2 separate regions of the Homo sapiens genome follow, and region 2 is linked to region 1. Evidence: promoter capture Hi-C in human tissues and cell types (Jung and others, 2019). All regions are on one chromosome and are shown on one strand. Each heading gives the region's core, a stretch centred on a gene start or on the middle of the fragment in contact. The rest is flanking DNA. Distances are from core to core; before and after follow the strand shown. Region 1 overlaps SIPA1L3 (signal induced proliferation associated 1 like 3). Region 2 holds the start of CATSPERG (catsper channel auxiliary subunit gamma).

Region 1 (3,121 bases), core at 225-2,724:
AACAGTTCCCAAGAGCTTTCGGTAACACCACTGCCACCACCTTTGTTACTGGTGAGTCACTCTGACTGCCATTTCCAACCTCAGCCCCTGCTGTCACCTGGGTGCCCCCACACCCCATGTCCCGCACACACCCGATTCCTCTCTGATTCTCCTGTGTTTCACAGCATCCTGCTTGTTCATATCTGTGGCCTTTACTCTGTTTGGAATGACTTTTTCTCTCCTCTCTGTCGCAGACTCCTATTAGTCCCTCAAACTTCTGTTCAGATGTCACCTCCTCCAGGCAGCCAGTCTAGACCTCCAGTGCTGGGCTGTGTTCCCTCTTCCTCTATTAGAGTGCTCATCAGAGTGCACATGGTTTTTACGATCCTCTCCATCACAGTCAGCAAGGGCTGACTACAGAACCCCCTCGTAATTGAGTATCTCAAATACTCCTCCTGGCACGCCAGAAAGCTCTTGAGACCCTTTGCTGAATGAAAGCTGAATGGTGGCTACTAGAAGAAGAAACAGTGGGCGTGTTTCTCCAATTGAACAAGAGGCTTAGAATCTAACAATGGATGACTGTGGTGACTCTCAGAGAATGGTCCCTGGTGCAGCACCCCGAACCTACCAGGTCAGAAATTTGGGGCTCAGGCCCAATAATCTGTATTTTAACAAGTCCTCCTCTGGGTGATTCCAATGCCTGCTAAAGATTGAGAACCACTGGTTTGGTGGCCTGATCCCTGGTCTTAAGGCAGGTGGTTTCATTTTAACAAACCCACTCACTCCATCCTTTCATCCAATATATACCAAAGATCAGCCATGTGTCGGACTGTGTACTATGTGATGGGAGGTCTTGAAGAGCACGCTTACCCTCTCTGTCTCTCTCTCGCTCTCTTACAGGTGCACATACATGCACGTGCGCAAGCACACACACTCTTAGCTGGCTAATAAGGATGAAGAGTGCTCAAGGCCACAGTCAGGAAATACACAGGAATTGGGGGGCAGTGCCTTGCCTCAAGAGGGAGCTCCAGAGAAGGGTTCTGGAGAGGGGCACAGAAGCTTGAGTTGGTAGGATGGGGGGAGTGTGGGCGAGGAGTGTGAAGCATATTCAGGCCAAGGAAGGAACACCATCAAGGCTCTGAAATACAGACAGTCCCCCTAGGAAGCTGGGAGTGGCCAGTGTGGCTAAAGTGTGGCACTGCACGAGACTCGCAGGGGCCCTGGTGGCCACAGGGAGGGGCCAAAGCTGTGTCCTGAGGGCTCTGGGAGTGGTGGGAGGGTTTGGAGCAGGGGACAGGCATGTTCAGGTATAGAAAGATCTGGCCAGGTGCACGGGCTCACACTTGTAATCCCAGCACTTTGGGAAGCTGAGGCAGGCGGATCGCTTGAGGCCAGGAGTTTGAGACCAGTCTGGCCAGCATGGTGAAAATCCGTCTCTACTAAAAATACAAAAATTAGCTGGGCGTGGTGGCGAGAGCCTGTAGTCCCAGCTACTTGGGAGGCTGAGGCAGGAGAATCACTTGAACCCGGGAGGTGGAGGTTGCAGTGAGCTGAGATTGCGCCACTGCACTCCAGTCTGGCGACAGAGTGGTCTCAAAAAAAAAAAAAAAAAAAAAAGACACAGAAAGATCCCTCTGGCTGTTGAGTGTTGAGTGGAGGGTAGACCAGGGGAGGTGAGATGAAGGCTGGAAGCCCACTGTGGTGGCCTGGGCAAGAGAACAGGGAAAGGAGGAGAGGGTGGGTGACAGAGATGCTCAGGAGGAGGACCACTGCAAGGAGGAGGAGGAAGGGGACATTCACAGGATGAGGGCCACAGCTCAGGCCCAAGGACTAGGATTGATGTGGCTGCCCCTGAGACAGGGACCTGGGGGCAGAGGAAGAACAGAGGGCACGAGGGCTGAAGGCAGCTGGGGAATAAGCTCAGCCGGAGCCAGAGCCTGAAGGGCCTTGAATGCCAAGTTTATCCTGAGGGCACTGGGGAGCCATGGAGGGTTTGGGGAGATCTCTCAGGCTGGTGGGGAGCCATGGAGGGTTTGGGGAGATCTCTCAGGCTGCCAGGTTGCAGATGGACGCAAGTGGGCAGAACTGAATCCTGAAAGATCTCGAAAACTGGGTAATGCTGGCAGCCTGGTCCTAGGGGCTTAGGGCTGGAGAGAGTTAGATGCATGGCCGTGCTGGATAGTGGATGCTCTTGCTTGACAGGTGTCAAGAGAACAGCAATCAAAATTCTGCTGCAAGGAAAGCCAACGATGGGTCCTGCCCAGCCCGGCCCAGTTTTGCTCCAAAACTTGAGACATAACCACCCCATGGGGCTCCTCTGAGGACCTTCAGGGGTCCAGAAACACCATAAAATGGCAACTAGAATTGTGGGGGTGTGCATTTGCTGGGGAAGAAGGAGGCACAGCTTTCATCAGATCCCTTAACATGAAAAGAATTGAGGGAGGCTGACCTTTCTGGGGATGGCTTGTATCTCACGTAGGTGGCCGAACCGGGGGTGGAGAAGCTCCCAGAAGGCTGTCGGTAGGGAGGGACTCTGTCGGCCCCTGCTGGTGATACTGTGTAAGGGGTTTCTGGGAAGCTGACAGGCCTAGAAGGAGACAGGGGAGGAAGGAGGCAGAGGGTGAGTAGGAGGGTACCCCTGCCCTGGGAGGATGGACGGACAGACAGATGGATGGACAGACGGACAGACAGACAGACCAACCGAACTTTCCCCCGCCCAGCCACATCCCTTCTGCTATTCACTGCTCAGGATGAAGGGGAGGATGCTGAGCACAGGGCGAGAGAAGCTGGGATGCTCCTGGGCCCCCTCTTCCCGGATCCACTGCGGCTGCCCGCAACTCACAGCTTCTGCAGGCTGCTCAAGACCATTCTCGCCTCTGCCCCCTGGGGACAAGATGTCCCTCTGCAAGTTGGATTCCTTCATTTTTTGGAAAATTTTCTTTTTATCTTTTAATATATAATATCTTCAAAAGAGTATCTGTTAAGTTATATTTGTCATCATCATAAAACAAACTCCCTGAAGCTACCAGCCAACCCCAGGACTAGAACGGTGGTGCTAACATCTACCTGTGGGCTTCCCCACTTCCCATTTCCCTGCCTCCTCCAGGAAGAAGTCACTGTCCTAAATTTTGTGCTTATCAGT
Region 2 (3,121 bases), core at 362-2,861, 190 kb before region 1:
TCTTGCTCAAAGAAGCTGTCGCTCACACCACTCTCGCCTACCCTCTTAAACTCGTTCAGGACAACCTGCCAGGTGCATTCCTGGAAATCCTTGATCGCCCACAGCCTCCACGACGCCAGGAGCACTGCCAGCAGGGCCCACAGCACCTGCACGACTCGGACTCTGGGCCACGGAGGACCGGCAGGGAACATGGCTGGGCCGCACATAACGTGGCTAGAACCTGGAGAACGCAGGAGTCAACACCCACGCGCCGGACAGCTCTCTGGAGCCCACTTTTAAGATTCCACCTCGCTTCTGCGCCTCTCACAGCACTTGCTCCTGGCCACGCCCCGGCTCTTGCTCCTGGCCCCGCCCCTGCACTTGCTCTTGGTCCCGCCCCTGCTCTTGCTCCTGGCCCTGCCCCCGCACGGACTTTTAGCCCCGCCTCTGCTCTTGTTCCTGGCTCCGCCTCTGCACTTGCTCCTGGTCCCGCCCCTGCTCTTGCTCCTGGCCCTGCCCCCGACCCTCGTGGGTATCGCACCTCTGCTATTGCTCCGGGCCCCAGCCCTACTAATGTTTCTGGCCACACCCCTGCTCCTCCGCCTCGTTCCGCCCCGCCGCCTCCACGTCTCTTCCTTTAACTTTATCCTCACCTTGCTCCTTATTCCGCCCCCTCCCTGTATTCCACTCTTGCTCTTCACCTGGTCTTGGTTTCTATTTCTCGCTTTGACAGTCCCCCTCTTAAGTTCCCCCGTACTGCTTCTGCCTGCGATCGCACCCGTGTACTTCCACCCGGCTGTGCCCCAACCTCTTGCCCCACCCTCGCACTTCTCTTGGTATCGCCGCTTTCTCCTCGCTCGGGGTCTGCCCAGGGGCTGGGTACTGTACCTGGTCTCGCCCGTCTCCGGGCCCCGCCCCTGCTCTTGCTCCCGGCCCCGCCCCTGCTCTTGCTCCCGGCCGGGCCCCCGTTTCTCGCCCGGGGCTTGCTCCTCACTCTGCTTCCGCTCCTGACCGCGCCCCTACTCCTCCACTTGGTCTTTATGGACCCGTTCCTTCCCCGGGTTCTCGGCGATTGGTTCTTCCCGCGCGGGCCCGTCGCCCCGTCCCGCCCTCTGGTAACGCCCCTCCTCCTCGCCCTGCCCCTTCTCGATGAAAACTGTCTCTTCGCCTCGGGATCTTTCCTCGCCCTTCGTTGTTTCCTCGCCCCACACCTTCTCCTTCCACGCCGGCACCAGCTTCTTAGCCGGCACCTTCTTGAGTCTCACCTTCCCCTCGTACCGCGACACCTTCTTGCCCCACTTCTTACTCTTCCTTCCCATGCCATTAACACCTGCCTGCTCTATACCCCGACTCTCCTGCCCCGCCCCGCCCTTCGCCCTTCACGTTCGGCTCCCCCTTTCCCTCCTCTGCCAGCTCCCACGACTCTTCCCCTCTTTCCCTCCTCTCCCAGCTCCCACGACTCTTCCCCTCTTTCCCCTGCCTCTCCCCTTCTCGCCTTCCCCTTCCCCTCCCCTTCCTAGTTCCTCCCCGTCCCCGGCATCCCCCCGCCCCTGGATGGCACAGCTTTTTCCCCGGCCCCGTGGTACCAGTCACTTGGTTAAAACCGGTCAACTGTCACTCGGCCGCACCAGTCCCGCCCCTCTTGCCCGGTCTCAAAATGGCCGCCCACACTTCCACAGCCGACTTCCGCCTTTGCAGAGGCACGCCCTCCTCTCACGCGGTCTCCAAGGTGACGCGCAACCCCTAAGGCACCGAGGGCTGGAGGCTGTCTCAGCACTGAGGGCGCGGGGCCTGGTCGGCAGAGGGTGCTGGAGACTACGTTTGTGCCAGGAAGGCCTTCAAGGAGTTTCTATTGGTTGTTCTGGCAGCAAGCACGGTCCCTACTTGTGCTTCCTACCCAAATATATATATATATATATTTTTTTGAGACGGAGTTTCGCTCTTTCTCCCAGGCTGGAGTGTGAAGTGGCGCGATTTCGGCTCACTGAAACCTCCGCGCCCCTGCCCCGGATTCAAGCGATTCTCCTGCCTCAGCCTCCCGAGTAGCTGGGATTATAGGCTCCCGCCACCACGCCTGGCTAATTTATTTTTTGTATTTTTAGTAGAAACGGGGTTTCATCATGTTGGCCAGGCTGGTCTCGACTCCTGACCTCAGGCGAACCACCCGCCTCGGCCTCCCAAAGTGCTGGGATTACAGGCGTGAGCCACTGCGCCCGGCCCTACCCCAAAATTCTACTCCTTAAAAAAGTGTGGTTTCCTGGAGACCTTGTGAGAATGAATAGGCTGCTTAGCACCGTCCTCTACAAAACAGGACAAGGACAGCCATCCTATACTGTTGTGGGAAGTGTGCCCGGCTCAAGTAAAATATTCATTAAGTTAATTTTCATTTGCATTCTGATGCCTTACAGGTAAGGATTCAGGCCATGACTTTTTGATGAACTCCAGACCAGACGTTTAACCCAGTGGTTTTCAAATTTGAGCATGCATTAGACTCACCTAAAAGGCTGGGTAAGCCAGGTTGGTGGGTACCACACCCTGAGTTTTTGTTTTTGTTTTAAAGATGGAGTCTCTGGCTGGGCATAGTGGCTCATGCCTATAATCCCAGCACTTTGGAAAGCTGAGGCAGGCGGATCACTTGAGGTCTGAAGTTGGATACCAGCCTGGCCAACATGATAAAACCTTGTCTCTACCAAAAAATACAACAATTAGCCGGGCATGGCGGCGGGCACCTGTAATCCCAGCTACTCGGGAGGCTGAGGCAGGAGTTGCTTGAACCCAGGAGGCGGAGGTTGCAGTGAGCCGAGATCCCTCCACTGCACTCCAGCCTGGGCGACAGAATGAGACCCTGTCTCAAAAAAAAAAAAAAAAATTAAGCCAGATGTGGTGCTGCACACCTGTAATCCCAGTACTTTGGGAGGCTGAGGTAGGAGGATCGCTTGAGGCCAGCCTGGGCAATATGGTAAGACCCTGTTGCTAACAATTTTTTTAAATTAGCCCAGTGTGGTGGTCCATCCCTGTGACCCCAGCTACCTGGGAGGTTGAGGCAGGAAGACCACTTGAGCCCAGGAGTTTGAGGCTGCAGTGAGCTCTGAAATACACGGAAATGCAGTGAGCTGTGATCACACCACTGCATTTCAGCCTG

The links. Contacts are between HindIII fragments. The study calls those that stand out against the background at their distance.
Region 2: a contact is called between the fragment with the promoter of CATSPERG here and a fragment that was not itself captured in region 1, in 1 of the 25 tissues and cell types used here (dorsolateral prefrontal cortex).

Annotation. Positions count from the first base shown.
Region 1 is chr19:38,142,018-38,145,138 of GRCh38, reverse strand. SIPA1L3 (signal induced proliferation associated 1 like 3) reads right to left here. Exons shown (of 22, transcript NM_015073.3): 12 at 2,429-2,566. Among named protein-coding and RNA genes, the nearest start is that of SNORD152, 20 kb to the left of the region's middle. RefSeq lists an enhancer at 759-1,608. The HindIII fragment of the contact is 6,489 bases long and covers 1-3,121 here.
Region 2 is chr19:38,334,320-38,337,440 of GRCh38, reverse strand. It overlaps CATSPERG (catsper channel auxiliary subunit gamma), which reads right to left and starts at 1,611. Exons shown (of 29, transcript NM_021185.5): 1 at 1,566-1,611; 2 at 1-220. The coding sequence starts at 206. RefSeq lists silencers at 824-993, 1,364-1,443 and enhancers at 1,564-1,773, 1,578-1,872. The HindIII fragment of the contact is 10,217 bases long and covers 1-3,121 here.